3 separate regions of the Homo sapiens genome follow, and regions 2 and 3 are each linked to region 1. The links are contacts of gene promoters, found by promoter capture Hi-C in blood cells and fetal thymus (Javierre and others, 2016). All regions are on one chromosome and are shown on one strand. The core of a region is centred on a gene start or on the middle of the fragment in contact, and the rest is flanking DNA. Distances in the headings are between cores, read along the strand shown. Region 1 holds the start of LINC01414 (long intergenic non-protein coding RNA 1414). Region 2 holds the start of LOC105375875 (a long non-coding RNA gene). Region 3 has its middle 200 kb from the start of YTHDF3.

Region 1 (3,385 bases), core at 550-3,049:
ATTTATTTGATAAAACTTAATCAGAGATATTCTGTGAAAGACAAGTCCCATTTAGTAGGTACCTTTAGTTTACAAATAAACATGTATATACAAATGGAATATTGCCTCCTTTAAGCAAATTAGGAAGTCAACCAAAATAGCAAAAGGAAAAACATGACATAAAATTGTCATGTCCCCCAAATGAATTTGTTGAATGAATACATTGTGTGTATCCACACTCTAAATGCTTTTCTGAAACAGTAGAGCTCTCCATAGCAAATATGTTTTTTAAAGCATAATCTTGTGAAAACAGTGCATGTTAGGTGACACACTGGTATGTAGTAAACAGATAACTACTTGTTTTCTGAATAATCTTACTTGCTCATTTGGGAAACAATTCATAGAAGAAATATTCATTGTTCTTATGCATAAACTTTAAAAATAATTTACCACAATTGGCCAAATTATTTTCAAAGTATAAACAGATAGACAAGAATACTAAACTTTCCCCTGCCTACATTTGAGAGTTTGTCAGCAGTCAACTCCAAGGCCTTTAATCCCAGGCTTTAAATAATTCAGATAACACTTGATTACTCCATTGCAAGAACCCTTGAGCTCTGCAAAATCTGAGTAACACAATATTTTCCACATTAAAAAAAGGCCAATCTTAAATAGTAGGCATCAGACCAAAGTATGCAACTCATTTTTGCATTTACTACATAAACTCTGGTAAATATCAGTGTAGTTTGCTACCAAGTAATTCTGCATTCTTGCTTTCATTACCAAGCCCTCTAGTTCTACAGCTTAATTTGCTCAACTCAGAATCCCCCATCCATACTTGTTCTGGTTTTAAAGGCTTCTTTGAATCATAACAAGTAAAATGGTTAGTTATGTTACTCAGAAACTCAAAAGTGTACACAAACGAAAATTTAAACTTAAAAGAATACTGTTTTGACATTCATTTCTATTTCTTTAGGAAAATCATTGTTTTATATCTTTTGACAACCAAGATTCAATAACTGCTGCCTCCGTTACTTGTAAACATCAGCCATTACAAAAGAGCTTTGCTCACTTGGCTAAATTACAACCTGAGTAATGTGAAACAGACAGAATAACCAAGAAATATTGGCTTCCAACCCCAAATCAAAAAGCAACAAAATTTTGCCATCAAAAATGTCTAGCTGAGTTCTAAATGGATTAAACTCATCCATAAAACTGACGTAGGTAGCACTTCACTTTGATGTATAGTAGGGTCCATATATGTCTGAGCATGTGTTCATAATTATCATGTAACCAGATAAATAAAAGACACAAAATTAGGTTACAAACATCAAATAAGCTCTGTAAAAATTATCAAAGTTGAGCAAAGAACCCACTGACTTTAGTGGTATGGAACATTTTTAATCAATTTCTTCTCTCAAAGTAAACTCATCATATCCTTTCCCCTCAATCCTTGTCTGAGCATAGGAATAATCAATTTCTCTTCACTCTAGCAAGCAAGTTTAGTTTTTTCATATATCTGGCCTGAAACAACATGAAGTAGAAAATCTACAGATTGCATTCAGTATCACCAATAAGTACCGCATTTGACTACTGCTCATACCATTTGGAAACCAGTCCTCACATGACGACTGGCCTGACACCTCATCCATCAGCAGGGTGCCCAGAGCAGAGTTGGACAGTCTTCCTTGCTCCATCTCCAGAGGGGAGGCCCAGTTGGGAAACAGGATTCTCTTCCAATAGCAATTAGATCTTTAAGATCAGGCCTCAGCAACATGACCTAAAGCCATCCTTTCTTGCAACAAAGTCTCCAGCATCTTCAGAGGAAGAGACCGGGAGTGAGGCAAATGAGGAGAAATCCAGGTCTCCGTGGCCTGATTAGAAACTTTGTTGTGTCAAATAAACTTTGGCCACTGGAGGAAAGTACCCCATGGTTGCTCTGGCTTTAGAAAGATCTGTCCAGGGCTTCTCAATCTTCTTTTCACCCCTCTCTCTCTCACTCCCTCTCTCTCTCCCCTCTTCTCTTGTTTCAAAAGGGGCCTCTGGTCAGCGCTGATTAATAAGTGTTTTTTGTTGTGAAGTGTTGAATAATAGAGGATGGCCGGTGACCCAGTAAGGACTAAACCTTGCGCTGGTTTATTGTGGCAAGCTGAGAAAGGGGCTTTAGGCCCGGGACCCCAGGCACTGACCCGCACACATCCCGCGGATCGCCTATTCATTCGCACAGCCCTCCAGTCGCCCAGGCTCCCATTGTTTGCTGAGCAACAATGGAGATTTCGCAGGGAAAGTAAAGCTCTTTTCAGATTCCTCTCTGATGTTTTGCATTTAGGGAAACACCGACCTCCACTTTTTCCCCCGACATTTTCCCTCCTGGCATTTAAAGCTGTTCGTTTTCGGGGAAACTTCTGTGAGTTTCGCGCTTGTTCGACCAACACCAGTGTTAGGAGGAGGCGAGACCGGTGGAAAAAGGAGAGCCCCAGAGATTTCCCGTGTGTGTGTGTGTGTGTGTGTGTGTGTGTGTGTGTGTGTGTGTGTGTAATGCATTTAGAGGACGGGAGCTGCCTCTAGGGAGAAAGGGGAGGGGGGAGGGGAGAAGAAAAAGGAAAGAGCGCGTTTCCTCGCCGGGGTTACCGGGGTGGCGCGGGCTTCGCGGCCGAGGGGCTGCCGGCCCGGCCCGCAGCTCCTCGCGGCCGGCTGGGAAGTGGCGGGTCCGGCTAGTCCGCGGGCGGGCGGAGCGCGCCGTCGCTGCCAGTGTCCCCCTTTAACATTCCTTCCCCGAGCCTTTCCCTGCTCCTCCGCTCTCCGAGCCCGGGGCGGCCCCGCAGACACCAGCGCCTCTATCCTGCGCTCCTTGGCGTACGCAGCCGGGCGAGGTCGCGGCGGGAATGGGCGCCGAGGCCCTGCCCGCCAGGGCCGCATCTGCGGCCCGAGACTTACTTCTGCTTTGCTTTCCTGCACCTGGCCCGGGGCAGGCTTTCTAGTTTCTGCCTCGGCCAGAGGAGCCGACTTCCGCAGGACGGGCTTGGGGCAGGGGGTGCCGGTGGGGGCAGCGGGGCGAGGCGAGGTCGCAGGGAGACGACCAGGCCTGCTTGGGCCTGGGCCGCTCCAGCCGCCTCGCCTCTTCAGGGACCTCGCCCCGGGACCACCCGAGCGGACCCACAGCTTCTGAGGAAACAGCTGCCTCGGGCCTAAGGGTCTTTGCTTTCCCCCAACGCATGCAAGCGTGGGTCGCCAGCCCAGCATGTCTGGCGTGGAGGCCGGAGGAGGGTGGGGAGCTGGCGGTGCCCTATGGCCAGACGAGTAAAAGTCGGTTAGTGTTTTATGCGCCTGGGGGAGGCGAAGGGCGCGGGCTTGCGGGGCCCGGGCTGCGAGTATTGGGAGGGGGCGCCTCGTGAGGCCGTGCGAG
Region 2 (3,238 bases), core at 584-3,083, 950 kb before region 1:
ATTGTTTTATACAATCAATATTAATTAACAATATTAGTATTATATATGTATACTATATTTATGCAGAGAAAGAGAGAGAGAGAAATTTATTTCCAGGAATTTGCTCATGCAATTGTGGGAACTGGCAAGTCTGAAAACTTTAAGGCAGGGCAGCAGGCTGGAAATTCTGAGGTAGGAGTTGATGCTACAATCTTGAGGCAGAATTTTTTCTTCCTTAGGGAAACCTCAGTTTTGCTTTTAGGGCCTTTCAACTGTTTAGATGAGATCCCCCACATTATTGACAATAACCTCCTTTACTCAAAGGCAACTGATTGTAGATGTTACCCACAACTACAAAATACCTTCCCAACAACATGTAGATTAGTGTTTGTTTGAGTAACTGGGTACTATAGCCTAGCCAGGTTGACACATACAACTAACCATCACAGACTTCATTTAAACATTTATTATAAAGCTTTTAATATATTCAATATGTCTTACCATCTTTTCTCTAGTTTTTATTCTTTTGTCTCTATATTAAATTGTGGATTTTTTTTCTCATGTACCTTCAAAGGTACTAATTCTCTTTTCACCTGTATCTAGTCTACTGTTACATTCATCTACTGTTAAAAATACTCTGTCACTAAAGCTTGTCTTTTACTTTTTTTTTAACCACAGAAAACCTAGTTATTTTATAGTATATAACTGTTATTTCTAATATCTCAAGTTCTTGTTGGTCTTTCTGTTTTCCCTTGTTTCTGTGGGTATGTTTTAGTTTATCTTCCATCTTTGTATTTGTGTTGTCTGTATGGTTGCCTTTCTGAGCTGGATATTGTGTTTAAAGAACTATTTGTAGAGCTAATTTGAGGACAAGAATGAGGGTATCTTCCTCCTTAGGTGATTTGTATTTGCCTCCCAGGTGCGTGGATGTGCTGGCCTTTCAAGATAACTTTAATCCATGTTTAAGGATTGAAATATCCTGGGCTATCCAGATGAAAGAAGACATTCTAAAACTCTTTCAATGCTAGTTTTAATCTGTTAACATTTACTACTGGGATGGATACAGCTTTTAGGAGCCTTGGCTCAAAGTAGGTTGGGAGGTTATTTACCAAGGTTACTATCCTGGCAGATCAAGACCTTGACTTTTCACCTTTAGTCCTAGAAGTTTACCAAAAATCCATCAGAATCCCTTAGGCTCCCCTTTTTAATCAGCAAAAGTGGCCTTGAGTGCATTTCTCACCTTGCTGTGTTCTTAGCATGCTGGGTCACCACCTGGCAGTTCCTTAATATGTTGTTAGTTCTTGGATTCAGTTTTTTTCAGCGTCCTCAGAAGGAAGGATGGTCTGAGTTTCCCAGGTCGTTATTATAGAAAGTAGATGCCCCCTTATTTTTTCATTTTTGATGTAAATGATATCTTATTTGGCTTCTTAACTGGAACGTTAAACAAGTAGTAATTTGCTTACCAAAAGACTAATTACCTATGAATAAGTACTTTCTGATTTTACCAAACAGTTTTCCTATGTATATTAATTAAATAATATGGAAAAGATGAGTTGGAGTAAAGATAATAGACTTACATGAGAAACTGATAAGTCTTTTCTAGTTGTAGAGAGTTTGGTCACTGGCTTGATCTTTTCACCCTAATTCATTGTTTTCTTTTCACCCAACTTGTTCCCTTTCTGTCCTCTTTTATCATCTTCATGCTCTTGTTGCAAGGGCCTTACAGACTCAGATGACTCATCTAATCCCTTTCTCATTCATCTTCACTTTACAGGCTCATTCATACTGACAAGGCTGAGGGAACTTTCATGTCACCTATATGTGGACCCTGTAAGCAGTCACTTTTCAGGTCATCTTCTTTGTAGTGTGCCTCAGAGGCTCTAGGCATGTATACTTTCTTTAGTGTTTTATAATGCTAATGTATATTGCTCATCTCTCAATTCTTGACTCATACTCTACTTCTCCATTGGAACCATTTTCCTGTTTTGAGGCCTGGTCTCGTGACTAGTCCTCTTGGTATCTGGATAGAGCATTTCCCTTCAATTACACTTGCTGCTTGGTGTCATGCAAGGAGTGAACTGAGTTCTTAGACACATGGCCTCACTTCTGCTTGCAACATTCTATTGCTTTGTCCTACCTCAGAGACTGAATTTCTATGGCCATTGGAGTTCTTCTATACCAAGCCAATGTGTACCATACCTCTTTGGATCTTCTAGTTTGGACTGCTGTGTTCCTGCCCCTCTCTCATTGGAACTACCTGTCTTCACTTAGTCTATTTCCTACCATCCTGAGCCATTAAGGGCCCAGGAAGCCCACCTTTGTGTTATTTTTTCCATCTTAGGCTTGAAATACCAGTGGCAACTATGGCTTTATTGACACAGGTATTTTTGCACTCTATTTAATTTTTTCCTTTTTGCCATTTACCTCTTGCAACTTTTCTATTTCCTATGGTTACATTCCTTATCTTGCACCACACTGTTGATTTTGATGTTTTCCCTGCTATTCATTAATTGCAATTTAAGTTATATTTACGTTATGTCTGTTCTCTGCATATTCCTATTTTCTGTTGTTCTTTCCTGCTGTGCTTTGGCCATATATTCCTTGAGAACAGATGACTTGCACGGCTAAGGTGTTATGCACTGGCCACCTTAGGCTTGGTTTATTTGAGCTTCTAACTTCCCTGTCATGTAGTTGTTACCAGGAATTTTCTTAGGAAAAAATTGGCCACCAGGGGGACTCTCCTTTCTGGAAACAGTTCTGTATCTGGATATCAGCAACATTCTCATTTTAGAACGGCCACCCCTATTGCTGTATCATAGGATTGAAAGAAATATTTGTAATGGGACTCAATACTAACAGAAGAGATCTTTTTTTGTTTAACATTGTTTAAAACAAGCATATAAATAACCAAAACAAAACTCTACTAATCACCCTGTGTTCTGGAAGCCGTCATTAAACTAGACGTTTTGGAGTGGAGGGGTATCTTTTGCAGTAATATGAGGAAGCTAAGCATAGAGATTACACTAAAAAAATATTATTTTGGATCATTGACATCTGTGAGAAGCTTGTACAGTGCTGTTACTCATCTCATAAAGCATGTCTCAAAATGAAAAAAAAGGGGGAGAAGAACTAAAAACAATGAAAACATTTTTATTTAAAAATTCTGCCTCACCCACATAATGCAGTTTGTCCTGTCAGAATTAGTTGCTTAGAGCCACAAAGAGCAATGGGAGAATTTTCTCTTTCATTTAAATTTGCA
Region 3 (3,033 bases), core at 325-2,824, 1.0 Mb before region 1:
CATTAAAAAAAATTTTTTTTCACCTGTAATCCCAGCATTTTGGGTGGCCTTAATTAACCTCAGCAAAAAGAGGAATTTAATTATAAGAATGCCAAGTTGTCTACTACAAACTAAGAAGAGAAATGGAGTTAGGTCTTAGGAATGACCTGGAATCAGAGAGTCAAAAATATCAAGATTCTCTCTATGTTTCTCATTGGTGATTTAACCTGGCTTATGTTTCTCTCCGCTCCCCGACTCTCTGCCTCACTCCTCATTTCCTTTCTTCTTGAGTTCATGTGGCAGAAAGCATGGTCACCAATAGCCCCCAAGTTGTTTTTTTGAGACGGAGTCTTGCTGTGTCGCCTAGGCTGGAGTGCAGTGGTGCAATCTTGGCTCACTGCAAGCTCTGCCTCCCGGCTTCATGCCATTCTCCTGCCTCAGCCTCCCGAGTAGCTGGGACTACAGGCGCCCACCACCACGCCTGGCTAATTTTTTGTATTTTTAGTAGAGATGGGGTTTCACAGTGTTAGCCAGGACGGTCTCGATCTCCTGATGTCGTGATCTGCCTGCCTTGGCCTCCCAAAGTGCTGGGATTACAGGCGTGAGCCACCGCGCCCGGCCAGCCCCCAAGTTTTACATGTTTCAGATTCTGCCATCCAGAGGACTTCCACCCCCCTCCTCCCTTTATTCTTTGTCCCATAATTCCTGGAAAAGACAATGATTGCTCTGGTTGGAACACGTTCCACTGCTGAACAAATCTATTGTGCTTGTGGGCTCTGTCATGTGGGAACATGGACATTCCTGCTGCAACCATGTGGGAGAAGGGGACAAAGAAGAGCAATTTCTAGAAAAAGGGCATGCAGTAAGCAATTTTATATGTGTGTCTTACAAACACCATACAAATATTTGAATACAGAAATGACCCTCTCCTGAAGCATCTCACTAGGCTACACGCTTCCAATTTTCCCAACCTTTTTTCAGTGATTTTGTTTTCACAAGGACAACTCCATCTTGTTCTCTTACTCTTTCAAATTTTATCATGGAAGTGTGACTTCTAGAACTCATTTCAATAGTTAGAGCTGATCAATACAGAGTTAAGATCACCTCTGCAAAAACCAGAGGGTTCCTAGGAGATCACTTCTCTAAGAACTTACTGACTTCCCCCACCCTGGAAGCTTTCATTATTGGTAGGAGTTATGATTCCAGACAAATTTTTCTATATAGAGACTTCAAGATGAAAGACTAATAATAACATTGGCCAAGGATGATCTGAATCTAAAGCAAAATGAAATCCTATTAATAATCTAATGGGAAAATTTTGCCCTGTGAACACTGAGCTATTACTAATACCAAACTTTTAGACATATATTGTCTCCTTTAGTAGCTAAAATTCATAAGCTACAAATGGTACATGCATATAGCAAATATTTTTTCTTTATATACTACTATACATCTCATACACAGTGCTACTTAAATGGTACTTCAAAATTTCTTTATGTTTATGACTAGTTTAAGTTTCATTATTTCTTAAATAACAAAATCATTTTCCCCATTGCACTATTTTATTTAATTCAATAAATAATCGTTGAGAACATACCAAAGGCATATCTAAAAGGTGTTATTCTAGGTACTGAGGCTGTGAAGGTGATTATGGCTTTTGAATAGCTTATAATCTAATGACACACATACATATACACATACACAATAGCAATGAGAGGTATATCATAGGCTCATCTAGGCCTGCCTGCTACAAAATCAGAAAACAACGAATACAGACCTAGGGCCATGTGAAAGGGCATTGAGCTGTAGTGCTTTGGGATTAGATAGATTTGCTCTTCAATCCAGTTTCTGTCAGCTACTCTCTGTTACTTGAACAAGTTAAATATCCTTTCTGAGTCTTATTCTTTTCCTTTGCAGAATATAAACTGTATTTATTTGATGATGTTCTTCTGTGAGAATTCAATGTCATAAAAGTATACAATATGCTATTCATTTGTTCATTCCAAAAACATTTAGAAGCTTTCATTATGTTGGAAGATTTAGATAAAAGAGTAACCAGTCATTGTGTAACATAATACATGCTGTTGCAGAGGACTAGATTTAAGAGTTTAGACTTTATTTTGAAATTAGAGACCATTGATGAGTTTCAAGTAAGATAACAAATTTTCAAATTTCCATTTTAGAGAAATAACTCTAGTTGTAATGCAGCAAGTAGATTGGAGCAGGCCGAGTCTGGAGGGCATGAGGCTTGTTTGTAGCTATTGCAGAAACCCTAGGCAAGTGATGATTGCAGACATCATCCACAATGACAAAATAGGACTGAAGCAAATCACAAAAACAGAAAATTAAACTGAAGAGGAGGGTCCTGTCATAAAATTTGCCAAGCAGTGGCTTCCTGATGGACTAAACATAGAAAAGGAGAGGAAGAAAGGGAACAGCATGACTCTGAGACACAGGTGTCAAGAGATACAGGAAAAGAAGTAGGTTTTCAGTGAAGGATAATGAACTCTGTTCTGACTATGTTGAATTTGAGGTGCCCATGGGACATCTAGATGAAGATTTCTAAATACATATTTGGATTTTGAAGAGAAGAGTTAAAGAGAGAAATCTGACCCAGAGATGTGGCTTTAGGTTATGTGAATTAGCTACGTAGTCCCTCAATTGCCATGCATTGGAATCTACTCCCAGTAGCTGCAGTGAACAGTGTGCACACAGATTGAATCCTGGAAACTTGTGATCAGTATGGTGGGATGGCCCATCTTACCTTTTATGAGTTCACCAAGAATTTTTCCTATTTAAAAGAACACCATGAATCCAGCCATTCATTCACTGCAAATCTAGCACAAAAAGATTGGCAACAAATTGTATTCAGGTAATAGATATCTCAGAGACCAATTATTAGTCAAATGTGGTAACACTGGGACTGATCATATCAGGAATTGGAAAAGAATGTCTGCTCCAAAAACTGTCATAGAGATACTACTACATAAGCAAAATATTAAAAATTGTGGTTTTAAAATTTATCATTAAGAGATTCAGAAATTTTATCAAAAA

What was found. Contacts are between HindIII fragments. The CHiCAGO score rates a contact against its expected background, and 5 or more counts as called.
Region 2: a fragment that was not itself captured here is called in contact with the fragment with the promoter of LINC01414 in region 1 in 4 of 17 cell types (M1 macrophages, M2 macrophages, endothelial precursors and 1 more); the score reaches 10.5 in M1 macrophages.
Region 3: a contact is called between a fragment that was not itself captured here and the fragment with the promoter of LINC01414 in region 1, in 4 of 17 cell types (endothelial precursors, M2 macrophages, M0 macrophages and 1 more). The highest score is 7.1, in endothelial precursors.

What each region holds. Positions count from the first base shown.
Region 1 is chr8:64,366,759-64,370,143 of GRCh38, forward strand. It overlaps LINC01414 (long intergenic non-protein coding RNA 1414), which reads right to left and starts at 1,800. Exons shown (of 5, transcript NR_125826.1): 1 at 1,583-1,800. RefSeq lists enhancers at 2,003-2,504, 3,321-3,385. The HindIII fragment of the contact is 6,543 bases long and covers 1-3,385 here.
Region 2 is chr8:63,415,884-63,419,121 of GRCh38, forward strand. LOC105375875 (a long non-coding RNA gene) reads right to left here and starts at 2,039. Exons shown (of 4, transcript NR_188107.1): 1 at 1,557-2,039. The HindIII fragment of the contact is 2,415 bases long and covers 627-3,041 here.
Region 3 is chr8:63,371,166-63,374,198 of GRCh38, forward strand. No RefSeq gene overlaps it. Among named protein-coding and RNA genes, the nearest start is that of YTHDF3, 200 kb to the left of the region's middle. The HindIII fragment of the contact is 844 bases long and covers 1,153-1,996 here.